Linked DNA regions of Homo sapiens: regions 1 and 3 are each linked to region 2. The links are contacts of gene promoters, found by promoter capture Hi-C in human tissues and cell types (Jung and others, 2019). All regions are on one chromosome and are shown on one strand. Each heading gives the region's core, a stretch centred on a gene start or on the middle of the fragment in contact. The rest is flanking DNA. Distances are from core to core; before and after follow the strand shown. Region 1 has its middle 3.4 kb from the start of SUNO1. Region 2 holds the start of LSM14A (LSM14A mRNA processing body assembly factor). Region 3 holds the start of WTIP (WT1 interacting protein).

Region 1 (3,575 bases), core at 206-2,705, 270 kb after region 2:
CTCCTCAAGCTTATCTATGAAATCCAGTGCACTCCTCCAGGGCTGCCGGCCGGCCCCCCGCCCCGCCCCGCCCCTCCCCGCCCCGCCCCTTCCCCCCCGCCCCGTCTCTTGTGGGAGAGAGTGCTATTCTCTTTTCTCTTTCTTTTGCCTATTAAACCTCCGCTGTTAACCTCATTTCACATACATCTGGATCCTTGATTTCCTTGGTATGAGGCAATGAACCTCAAGTATTTACCCCAGACAACGAAGCCACTCCACCACCCTGATGCGATCATCCCCTTGTGTATCTACACTGTCCATACCACCTGCCCATTAGTCACTCAATACCCGTCTGGGTTACTACATCCACATTCACGTAACTCTTATTACAGTGCATTGTTGTAATTGTTCTATTTTATTATTAGTTATTGCTGTTAATCTCTTGCTGTGCCTAGTTACTGTTGTTAATCTTTTACTGTGCCTAGTTTATAAATTAAACTTTATCATTCATATATATATATATATATATGAAGAAACATACTCTACAGTATGTAGGGTTTGCTATTGTCCATGATTTCAGGCAGCCACTGGGGGTCTTGGAATATATCCTGGAGGATGGGGGGGGACTCCTGTACTAATTTACATGAAATGAAAACTGCAGGGGAACATGTTAAACAGCACTATGGGGACATAATCAAAACAATCCAGCTCTTGTAAAACCGCAGGATAAACGACCCAGTTCTTCAATAATGAATTGCAAGGAAAATAATCACATTTAGATTCTGAATCAAACAAATGATAAAAAGAAAAAAAAACTAACGTTTTTAGGACACTTGTGAATTTCAATACTGATGGGATATTTGATATTTTAAAAGTCTTCTTAAATTTTTTAGAAACGGTAATATTATGGTGGTATTTTTAAAATTATCTTCTGAAAATACAGGATAAAATATTTAGAGGGAATGATAGGATATCTGGGATTTGTGTGTAAGTAGTTTTAGATGGGGCAAGGGAAGTGTGTGAAGATATAGATGGGAAAATGATGGGGCATTAGTAATGTGTACATGGTGGGTCATTCTGTTATTCTCTATATTTCATATCATGTTTAAATTGTTTTTTCAGAGTGTTCTGAAACTTTTGAACTGCTATTGGAGTCTGGCTGAATTGCCTGGGCTGGGGCTCAGGACAATGGAGACTCAGTGCACTTTGCAGATACCCCTTCTCATGTGTCCCTTCAGCAAATGATATTGAGGACCTTTTGTTTTCTTGAGCTCCTGAAATGATGGAGCTCACACTTGAGATTAGAAAATAATGAAGAAGGCCAGGCGCTATGGCTCACGCTTGTAATCCCAGCACTTTGGGAGGTTGAAGAGGGTGGATCACCTGAGGTCAGGAGTTCAAGACCAGCCTGGCCAACATGATGAAACCCCATCTCTACTAAAAAACACAAAAATTAGCTGGGCATGGTAGCAGATGCCTGTAATCCCAGCTACTAGGGAGGCTGAGGCAGGAGAATCACTTGAACTGGGGAGGTGGAGGTTGCAGTGAGCCGAGATCGTGCCATTGCACTCCAGCCTGGGCGACAGAGTAAGACTCCCTCTAAAACAAAAAAAGAAGAAAAATAAAGAAAATAAATGAATGAAGGATAGAGCCACCAAATGGAAGCAGGGAAGCCTTTGCCGAAGAATGAGTGTTTGATATGAGGACTGGCAGGTGAAAAGGAGTTTTCGGCATGGTGTCTGTTCATCTGTAACATAAGGTGGTTAACGTTAGACTCTATCTACAAGGAGGATCCGTTTAGTCCTAACAGATTCTGTGATTATAGCCTAGCTAAAACCATTTTTTTTCTTCTGTGTGTCTCTCCAAGGAGTTGAGAGGACCAGCCCCCACACCATGTACTTCCTGTCATTGTCCCTTATTTTATTAACTGAAGCAATCTGATTTGAGTGGCTGGTCTTGAATCTCCCACTTGTGTTCAGAGGCCCAAACATTATCATACAATCAGTCCATGGCCTTTTTAGAGGATAGTCTCTAGGGCTCACAGATTCGTTTCTGCTCATTCAGTTCCCAAAGCAGTTCACTAAGCAGCCTTACCTATACTTTCGCTGGTGGCTATGCACAGCCTTGGTAATAAAACCTACTTGTGCTTCAAAACGTGAGTGCCTGCAGTAGATGCCCTCAGCCTTCCCAGCTGTTCTTGTCCAGCATGCAGCCTGGCCTTCAGGTTAACTAGTTCATCCTGATACTCTGCCAGAATGGGTCGAACTTTGTGCTTTGAAGGCCCTTTTCCCCATGTGGCATGAACAACCTGCCAAGATCAAGCTTGCAACAGCTGTAGTTATTTGACAAGTGGCTGGCTGTATCACCTCTCCACTCTGCTGTGCAAAATTATTTGTGTGTGTGTTCTGTTTATTCTTTTCTTCTTCTCAGGGATTTTTTTTTTTTTTTTTTTTTGAGACAGAGTCCCCCTCTGTCACCCAGGTTGGAGCGCAGTGGCACGATCTTGGCTCACTGCAACCTTCACTTCCCGGTTCAAGTGATTCTGTTGCCTCAGCTTCCCAAGTAGCTGGGATTAGAGGCATGCGCCACCATGGCTGGCTAATTTTTTTGTATTTTTAGTAGAGACAGGGTTTTGCCATGTTGGCCAGGCTGGTCTCAAAGTCCTGACCTCAGGTGATCTGCTCGTCTCGGCCTCCCAAAGTGCTGGGATTATAGGCGTGAACCACCACACCCGGCCCATCTTCTCGGTTTTTATGGATGTTTGTACTTTAAAAGGACAATTTCTGAAACTTTTGGATAAGTAAGATGAGAATCTTTAAATGTGATTGCTATATGTTTATTGAATGGGTTTACCTGAGGCATAAACAGAGAGGCAAACACAGTGTCTTCTTAGGGACCTAACAAGCATACTACAAGATGACCCAGAGCCTGACAGAAGGCTGAGAAGGCTAGAAGCATCCCTAATTCTTGCTGCTATAAAACAAACGTATACTTCACTAAGAGAAAAAGTACCGGAAAGTTAACTGGGATGTATTGTATGTTTCCAGTGACTGCTCAAACGCTTCTTATACTAATTTAGTTAGAACAATTTATCTTAACAGAGAACTATAATTTTCCACTCTTTCCAACCAGTTTAACCAACTTATACTTTTTAAACCCACCCAGATGGAATTTATGAATTCAAAGCCAATACCCTAAACCTTAATTTTTATGCTAACCATCATTATAGGTGAGGAATTATGCTAAAGGAACAGTTGAGATCTCTTCTTCTGGCTCTGGAACGCCAGTCTGGATCAAATGAAACTTCCCACCTTAAACAACTGGAACAGTTAGATAATTTTAAAAATCTGTTTTAAAATATCAGAGACTGGCCAGGCATGGTGGCTCATGCTTGTAATCCCAACACTTTGGGAGGCCAAGTGGGGTGGATCATTTGAGTCCAGGAGTTTGAGACCAGCCTGGGCAACATGCTGAAACCCCATCTCTACTAAAAATACAAAAATTAGCTAGACCTGGTGACATGTACCTGTAGTTCCAGCTACTTGGGAGGCTTAAGCAGGAGAATCGCTTGAATCCAGGAGGCAGAGGTTGCAGTG
Region 2 (3,547 bases), core at 229-2,728:
AGCTAAACTCCATCTTAGAAAAATAAATAAATAAATAAATAAATAAAGGATTTACCAGAGCATCCAAGAAATATTATTAAATACTTGATCCCGTGAAACCACTCCCCTATCTGTTAACGATTTTTAAAATTTTACAGATTTCGAAAATCTTCTTCTTTATCCTTGGACCTAACCTATCCACAGGGTCCCTAACCATGCTATGCAGTTCCCACCTCTACCAGAAGTGCTGGGAAAATCACCTAGGTTATCTAGCTTCCCTCAAAGTATTTTACACTGTTGTGAGATTTCCTTTAAGATTCAGGAGCTAAAGTTTATTTTCTTTCTGGTTTCCTGGCGGAGCAAAGGCCCTGCACGTGTGAACGGAAACAAAACCCACACAGACTCTAGGGATGCCAAATATTAACACTGTGGGTAGGGGCACCTTCCTTCTCGGCCGAATTCCCTTTCCCAGAGAGCCTCCAGAGGGATCAGTCAACGCCCACTGAGCCTGGATCAAAGGTCAAGCTTGCCTGGTCAAGAAGGATCCTGGATCAAGCTTGAACCCGTTTCCAGAAACAGGGGCGTCGGGGCAGCAGCAAGCATTTTTACCACGCGCCCTAATGAGGTGGTTGCACAACAGGCTTTGAGGATTCCGGTTTAACAGGTAAATACCAACAGAGGATGAGCCGAGGGAGATGGGATCTGCTCCACGGCATCGATGGCATTTCGAGAATGTCTGCGTCGCAGAGCAAACCCAAAGTTTTAGCACATTACTCAAGAGTTCACCAGAGGAAGATCGCCACGAATTGAAATGAACAAAGTGAGAAAATGGGTGCTGTGTAGTCAACGCATCCGCGATGAACTCAAGCTGGGCGGAAAAATTCTTTGAATACTCCGGCTTTGTTTTGTGCTAAGACGGCAGAAGCCCCGAATTTCGGAGTTGGAAGACGCGTTTCTCCGTGTTCTCCGGCCCGTTCTCGGACTTCAGGGCCGCCCGCCGCGCACTCAGTCCCGTAGTTCCCCGGGCTTCAGGCGCGGACATTCCGGGGGGCGGAAACCAGGGAGCCGCGGGGAGGCCGCGGTCCGGCCCGCGACGCCGGGGCCCGGAGAAGGGAGGCGAGAGGCCTCCCGGAGCTCGACGGAGGGAGGGGAGGGAACGAGGAGGCCGCGGGCCGGAGCGGGGAGCAGCCCCGAGCGGCGCCCGGCTCGGCCCCCACCCTGAGGCCCGGTCCCGCGTACCTTTGGCAAGGGCTACGGTGGAGTTTTCGGTGTCGATGGTGTAGAGGATGCCCTCGTAGCGGATCTCCGCCTTGGAGATGAGGCTGATCTTGCTGCCGATGTAAGGGGTGCCCCCGCTCATGGCGCCGCCGCCGCCGCTCCCAGCTGCTCGCAGAGAGGCAGATCCCACGCCACTGTCGCCCGCTCCGCACGCCCGCTCGCTCCGTCGGCGCCTACAGCAGCCGCTTCAGACCCAACATGGCGGCGGCGCCGGCTCCGCTACCCTCCCCCAGCCTCCCGCCCTCAAGCCGCGGCGCGGCGGCGGCGGCGGCGGCGGCAGCGGCGGCGGCGCGGGGCATGCTGGGAGGGCGAGGCCGCGCTCTCGCGAGACTTGGCCGGCTACTGGTGGCTCCCGGCTCATTCGTGGCCTCGGGAGTCCCGGCAGCGCTTGTTGGCCTGGACTACGGTGGTGGTCTTGGGGCCGCGTGAGAGGAACTTCGGGGACCGGCTGAGTGCCTCGTGGCACCCGCTTGCTGCGGGCTGGAGAGGAGGCGCGCGGCCTTCCTTTTGACTCAGGCCGTGGCCGCCTTGTCGTGGGTCCTGTGTCTTTGCCGACGCGGGGCCCTCGGCCTGGAGCGCTGCCCACCCGCCTCCGAGCTGTGGCGAGCCGCTGCTCATCCTTCTAAGACGCTGAACCTGCACCTCGTGGAGCTCCTACGGCTCCATTACCGCAGTCATCGCCCGGGGAGCTTCCCCCGAGGCTGCCCCTGGAGCTGGGGCTCTCACAAGGACTCAAGTGTTTCAGCCCCTTCCTGTCCCGCTCATTCAGCCGGTCTGAACCAGTTTCATGGCTTGCAACGCCATTGTAACTCACTAATCCCAATTATCAGTATGTAGCTTGGATCAATTCCGTGAACCAGGGTTTCTGTCGAATCTCAAACGTTAAGGGTCCAAAGCCATGCTCCCTGTTTCCCCTCTAACCTGCTCCTTCACCACCGTTCCCTATTTGATGTAAACGGTACCATTTTTACTCAGCTGCTCAGACTAAAAGCCGTGAGTCAGCCTTGCCCTGTCTTGCTTCCACATCTGTTCTGACTACACCTCTCCGTTATGTATACACAATATATCCTAAATCTGACTTCTCATCTCCATTCCTACACTTCTCCCACAAGCCACGATTACTCGGGCTGAATTATTGCAGTAGCCTTCTAAAAGTTGCCTCTGTGTCAACTCTTGCCCCCAGTACTTTATTCTCAATACAGCAGCCAGAGAGATCTTCTTAAAATCTAACTCAGGGCTGGGCGCAGTGGCTCACGCCTGTACTCCCAGTACTTTGGGGGCCCGAGGCGGGCGCATCACCGGTCAGGAGTTCGAGACCAGCCTGGCCAACATGGTGAAACCCCGTCTCTACTAAAAATATAAAAAAATTAGCCAGGCGTGGTGGCGCGCGCCTATAGTCTCAGCTACTTGGGAGGCTGAGGCAGGAGAATTGCTTGAACCCAGGAGGCGGAGGTTGTGGTGAGCCGAGATTGTGCCACTGCACTCCAGCCTGGGCGACAGAGCGAGACTCCGTCTCAAAAAAAAAAAAAAAAATCTAACTCAGATCATGTCCTTCCTCTACTCACTCTACTGATCCCATGTTACACAGAGAGAAAACCAGACTTTGGTGTCTAAGGATATACATGATTTAGCTTCTCGTTCTGTTCCAGTCGCGTCTAATTCAACCAGTACTTGAGCACTTTATTCCAGTCTCTGCTCAAGCATCACCTCCAGAGATGACGTCCCTGACAGCCTTGTTTAAAATAATACCACTCATCTCCTTAACTCAGCTTGTATTTTCTTTATAGCATGTATCTCTCTCAAGTATGTCTGTTTAATTATTTGTATGTATCTGTCTCCTTCACTAGAATGTAAACATTTTGAGATAGTGATGTTGTTTTGGTTGCTGCCGTATCATCAGGGGCCTAGTAACAGCACGTGGCTCAGGGCAGCTGCTCAGTTAATATTTGCTGCATGAATGAACAGCAGGATGAAGGCAGAGCACAGGCAGGACGGTGAGCTGAGTGAGCAAATGGCGAGAAGCCTGGCATCATAAGAGAGGGACACAGGAGAGAGACAGAGCTCTGATGGGGCTGGTGCACAGTGGCTACAAAGAAAGGTTTGGAAATCCCTGTTTCAGTACAAGGTCCATGCGAGGAAGTTGAATTATTTGTTTTTGTTTTTTTGAGACAGTCTCACTCTGTCACTCGGGATGGAGTGCAATGGTGCCATCTCGGCTCACTGCAACCTCTGTCTCCTCTGTTCAAGCGATTCTCCTGCCTCAGCCTCCCGAGTAGCTGGGATTACAGGC
Region 3 (3,767 bases), core at 815-3,314, 310 kb before region 2:
TCCACCAAAGCCAGGTGCTTAATACAGAAGGCGGGTTGGGAAGTTCTCGCCCCAGGCCCCACAGTATACCTCTGCCCCGCTCACAATCTCACCCCAAGAGCTGTCCCAAGAACTAGAGATCAGGGGGCCTGGGCCACACTGGGAAGTGGAGGCTGTGAGGCTGCTGGGCTTTGCAGATGCACCTGCAGCAGGATTCCTTTAGGAAACATCCTATGTCCACAGCACAGTCCGGGCGAGGGCAGCCCCGTGTGACTGGCACGGTTCCCCTCTCCCGCAAAGTGGGCTTTTCTTCCCTCACACAGTCTCCCTCTCCAGCCGCTACCATCACCAAAGCCTGGGTCAGGCGGTATCCGGTGGTACCTGGGCCACTCCATCTCCCGGTTGCTGTCCACACCCATACCGTGGCGGGGCAGACGGGGAAGCACCCCTTTCTGCTCATCACGAAGCATGAAAGGATCAGATAGAATGAGAGCACCAAACGCAAAGAAGAAAAGATCAGGCCGGGCGCACTGGCTCAAGCCTGTAATCCTAGCACCTTGGGAGGCCGAGGAGGGCGGATCGCTTGAGCCCAGGAGTTTAAGACCAGCCTGGGCAACATAGGGAGACTCTGTCTCTACAAAAAAAAAAAAAAAAAAAAAGTAAGAAGAAGAAAAGCTGGGCATGGTGGTGTGCACCTGTAGTCCCAGCTTCTCGGGAGGCTGAGGCGAGAGGATCGCTTCAGCTTGAGAGGCGACGGCTACAGTAAGCCGAGGACGCGCCGCTGCACTCCAGTCTCGGCGACAGAGGAAGACCCTGTCTCAAAAAAAAAAAAAAAAGAAGAAAGAAAAAAAAAAAAGAAGAAAGAAGAAAAAATTATCAGAAAATGGCTCAGTGTGCCCATGAACCTGACTTGCCTGTTAAGTTAGGAACCGCACATCAACTCACTCGGCCAGAACCCCTCGTGTGTCGGGGGACCCAGAGGCAGGGGTGAAGCCGCTGCTGGGGATCCAGGCGCACTCACTCACCCTTTGCGCTCCCCAGTCCCCAGGGGATGCACCTTCCTCGTCCCAACCCCGTGCACTGCTGCACCCCCAGCCAGCCCCGTGCTCTCCTCCGCTGATCCGGCCGCCTACCCGAGGCAGTCTCGGAACCCCGGACCCCAGCCATGCGCGCAGGGAACTGCCGGGCCGAGCGAGCTCACCGAAGTAGTCCCGCGCCGTGCGCGCCTCGAGCGCCCGCTCCAGCTCCCGGGTGAGCGCCTCCAGCCGCCGCTCGGCCGCGCTTGGGCCGCCCTCCCGGCCAGGGGGCAGCGGGAGTGCAGGCAGCGGGAAGGGAGCCGGCCCCGCAGGCTCCGGGGAGCGAGCGGGCGCGGGGCAGGCGCCGGGCGGGAGGAAGTCAGCGTAGGCGCCGGCCGAGCCCCGGGAGCCGAGGCTGGAAACGCTGGAGCGGGCGCTGCCCACCGAAGGCGGCCCGGGACCGGGACGCGGGTCCGAGCGACCGGAGCGCGGGCTGCCGTGGCGCTGGTCGTAGCCCAGGCTGATGCCGCTGGATCGGGCGCTGCCGCCACCGCCGCCGCCGTCGGACCCCGCCAGGCTGGCCCGTGGGCTGCCCGCAGGCTGCGCGCTGAGCTCCGGAACCGCCGCGCGCCGGGGACCCCGCTCCCCGCGGCTCAGTCCGTCCGCCCCGGCCTCGGGGCCGCCGCTGCCCTTCCCTCTGCGGCCCAGCGCGGGCGCCGCCTCGTCTCCAGGCCCAGGCCGCGGCCCCCGCCGCCCCCGACCGGGAGAGCCGCACCCGGGCTCCAGCTCCCGCAGGGCCAGCCCGGCCAGGAGTAGGGCCGCCTCGTCCGCGCCCGCCCTGGAGCGCTGCATGGCCCGGCCCGCCGGCCCTGGCGCGTCACCTCCGCCTCCGCTTCCCGCCGCCGCTCCGGCCGGGCCGCCGCATCGTCCGCCCGAAGCCCGGAGCCCGCCCCGGGACCCCTGGGCGCGGGGCGGGGCGGGGCCGGCGCCGGGCCGGGGTCGTTCCGGCGGCCACGCGCGGGCCGGGGGACGCGGCGCCCTGCTCGGCGGCGCGCGCGGCGGAGGAATGTAAGCTCCCAGGCGCCGGGCCGCGCCCCCTCCTCGCCGCGGCCTCGCGCGGGGCGGAGGGACTCCTTTGCGGGGGCAGGAATGCGAGGAAGGAGACGGCGCTGCGGCCTCTGGAATGTGGGGGGAGTGGCGGCGGCCGCGCTGCGCCGGGACCTCGGAGGGGCGTGGAGGCCGGGCCAGGACGCAGGGGCGGGCGGCGGAGGCACCGCGGGGAGAGCCCAGGGTCTGCGGGGCGCCCGGGCCGTCGGGCCGCTGGGAAGAGCTCGGATTTCCGCAGGCTGAGCTGGAGGCAGCTGGCGCCATCCGGGCCGGAGAGATCCAAGCAGTCGACAGCTTTCCCCACATCCCGCCCCATCTCCCTTCCCTGCGCCGCCTTGCTCTCCGGCGCTGCAGGGCCGACCCAGCTCAGCTTGGAACCCACGGCGCTTCGCCCGTCCCGCGCCCAGGAATACTGTGCGCCTAGCGCAGATGCGTCCCCACGACCCCCTGCCTGGCCCGGGGCCATGTGGCCGCGCACCGGCCTCTGAAGCCCCCATCTGACTGCTGGGGAAGGCGCCCAGAACTAGGAGCGGGTTGGTTGGGGACTGGTCCTCGCGCTGGGTCGCTTCGCCCAGGCCCCCAAGGCCAGGCTAGAAGCAGGCCTCAGGCTCAGAGCCGGTGGGCGGCGAGCCTCCCCTGTGGCCATCACAGGCAGTCCCCGTGAAATATGGGGACTCCTCCCTTTTCCAGCACCTGCATCCAGGGTGGTGGGTGAGGCTTCGAGGGGAGGTCCTGGAACCAGCGGGGCCATAGGGGCCACATAGGTGGGGAATCGAGAGGTGACTAGGGCTTCGTGCCCAAGGACACAACTAAAATCCCTTGTACAAGTCACACGGCTATAGGGAAGAAAACCAAACCGTTATCTGTCAGGGCCTGATGGATCCAAGAAAAGTGTTGCGTGAGAGAGTACTGTTTTCCAGGCCCTCTCTGCTCAGAGATTTTCGGGAAGGCGCCTACAGTGGCTCAGCGCGCAGGGAGCCCGCACGGGAACTGTCCCGGCCAGACCGCCCAGGGCAGTGTGGCCTCAACACCACTGAGCACCCGCTGGGGCCGCTAACCCCAGCACCTTCCCATAGCCTGCGGAGTTCCAGCCCCTGCCCCACCAGGGTAGGGGAAGTGGAAGCAAGCATTTCGTGTGCGCGGAGGGTGGGGGAGTTGCGCTGTTTTGTTTTTTTCAGACAAGGTGTCGCTCTGTCCCCCAGGCTGGAGTACAGTGGTGTGATCACAGCTCACAGTGATCACACACACCCCAGAGTCTCAACCTCCTGGGCTCAAGCAATCCTCCCACCTCGGACTCCTGAGTACGTAGGAGTACAGGCGCACACCACCACACAAAACGCTGAGATTACAGGCATGAGACTCCGTGCGGGGTCTAGAAGCCAGCATTTGGGAGAGCAAATACCCAGGGAAGCCAGGACATGAAAAATGGTCTACCTTTCAAATGAGAAAGGAAAAGCCAGTTCAGTCATATCACATTTCATGGACTGCATTATCTACTATTTAAAAATTACAATATTGGCAGGACTGTGGTGAAACAGTTGCACATATGCTACTGGTATGAGTGCAAATTGGGATATCCTTTTGGGAAGAGCAGTTTGGCGGTGTCAACATCCGCACAAACGAACACGAAACTTAGAAGCAGTAATACTGCTGCTAAACATCTAT

Evidence for each region. Contacts are between HindIII fragments. The study calls those that stand out against the background at their distance.
Region 1: a fragment that was not itself captured here is called in contact with the fragment with the promoter of LSM14A in region 2 in 1 of the 25 tissues and cell types used here (aorta).
Region 3: a contact is called between the fragment with the promoter of WTIP here and the fragment with the promoter of LSM14A in region 2, in 1 of the 25 tissues and cell types used here (small bowel).

What each region holds. Positions count from the first base shown.
Region 1 is chr19:33,899,691-33,903,265 of GRCh38, reverse strand. No RefSeq gene overlaps it. Among named protein-coding and RNA genes, the nearest start is that of SUNO1, 3.4 kb to the left of the region's middle. The HindIII fragment of the contact is 3,194 bases long and covers 1-3,052 here.
Region 2 is chr19:34,170,435-34,173,981 of GRCh38, reverse strand. LSM14A (LSM14A mRNA processing body assembly factor) reads right to left here and starts at 1,478. Exons shown (of 10, transcript NM_015578.4): 1 at 1,219-1,478. The coding sequence starts at 1,339. The HindIII fragment of the contact is 14,704 bases long and covers 1-3,547 here.
Region 3 is chr19:34,480,055-34,483,821 of GRCh38, reverse strand. WTIP (WT1 interacting protein) reads right to left here and starts at 2,064. Exons shown (of 8, transcript NM_001080436.2): 1 at 1,181-2,064. The coding sequence starts at 1,847. RefSeq lists enhancers at 1,026-1,680, 1,681-2,336, 2,337-2,991. The HindIII fragment of the contact is 21,139 bases long and covers 1-3,767 here.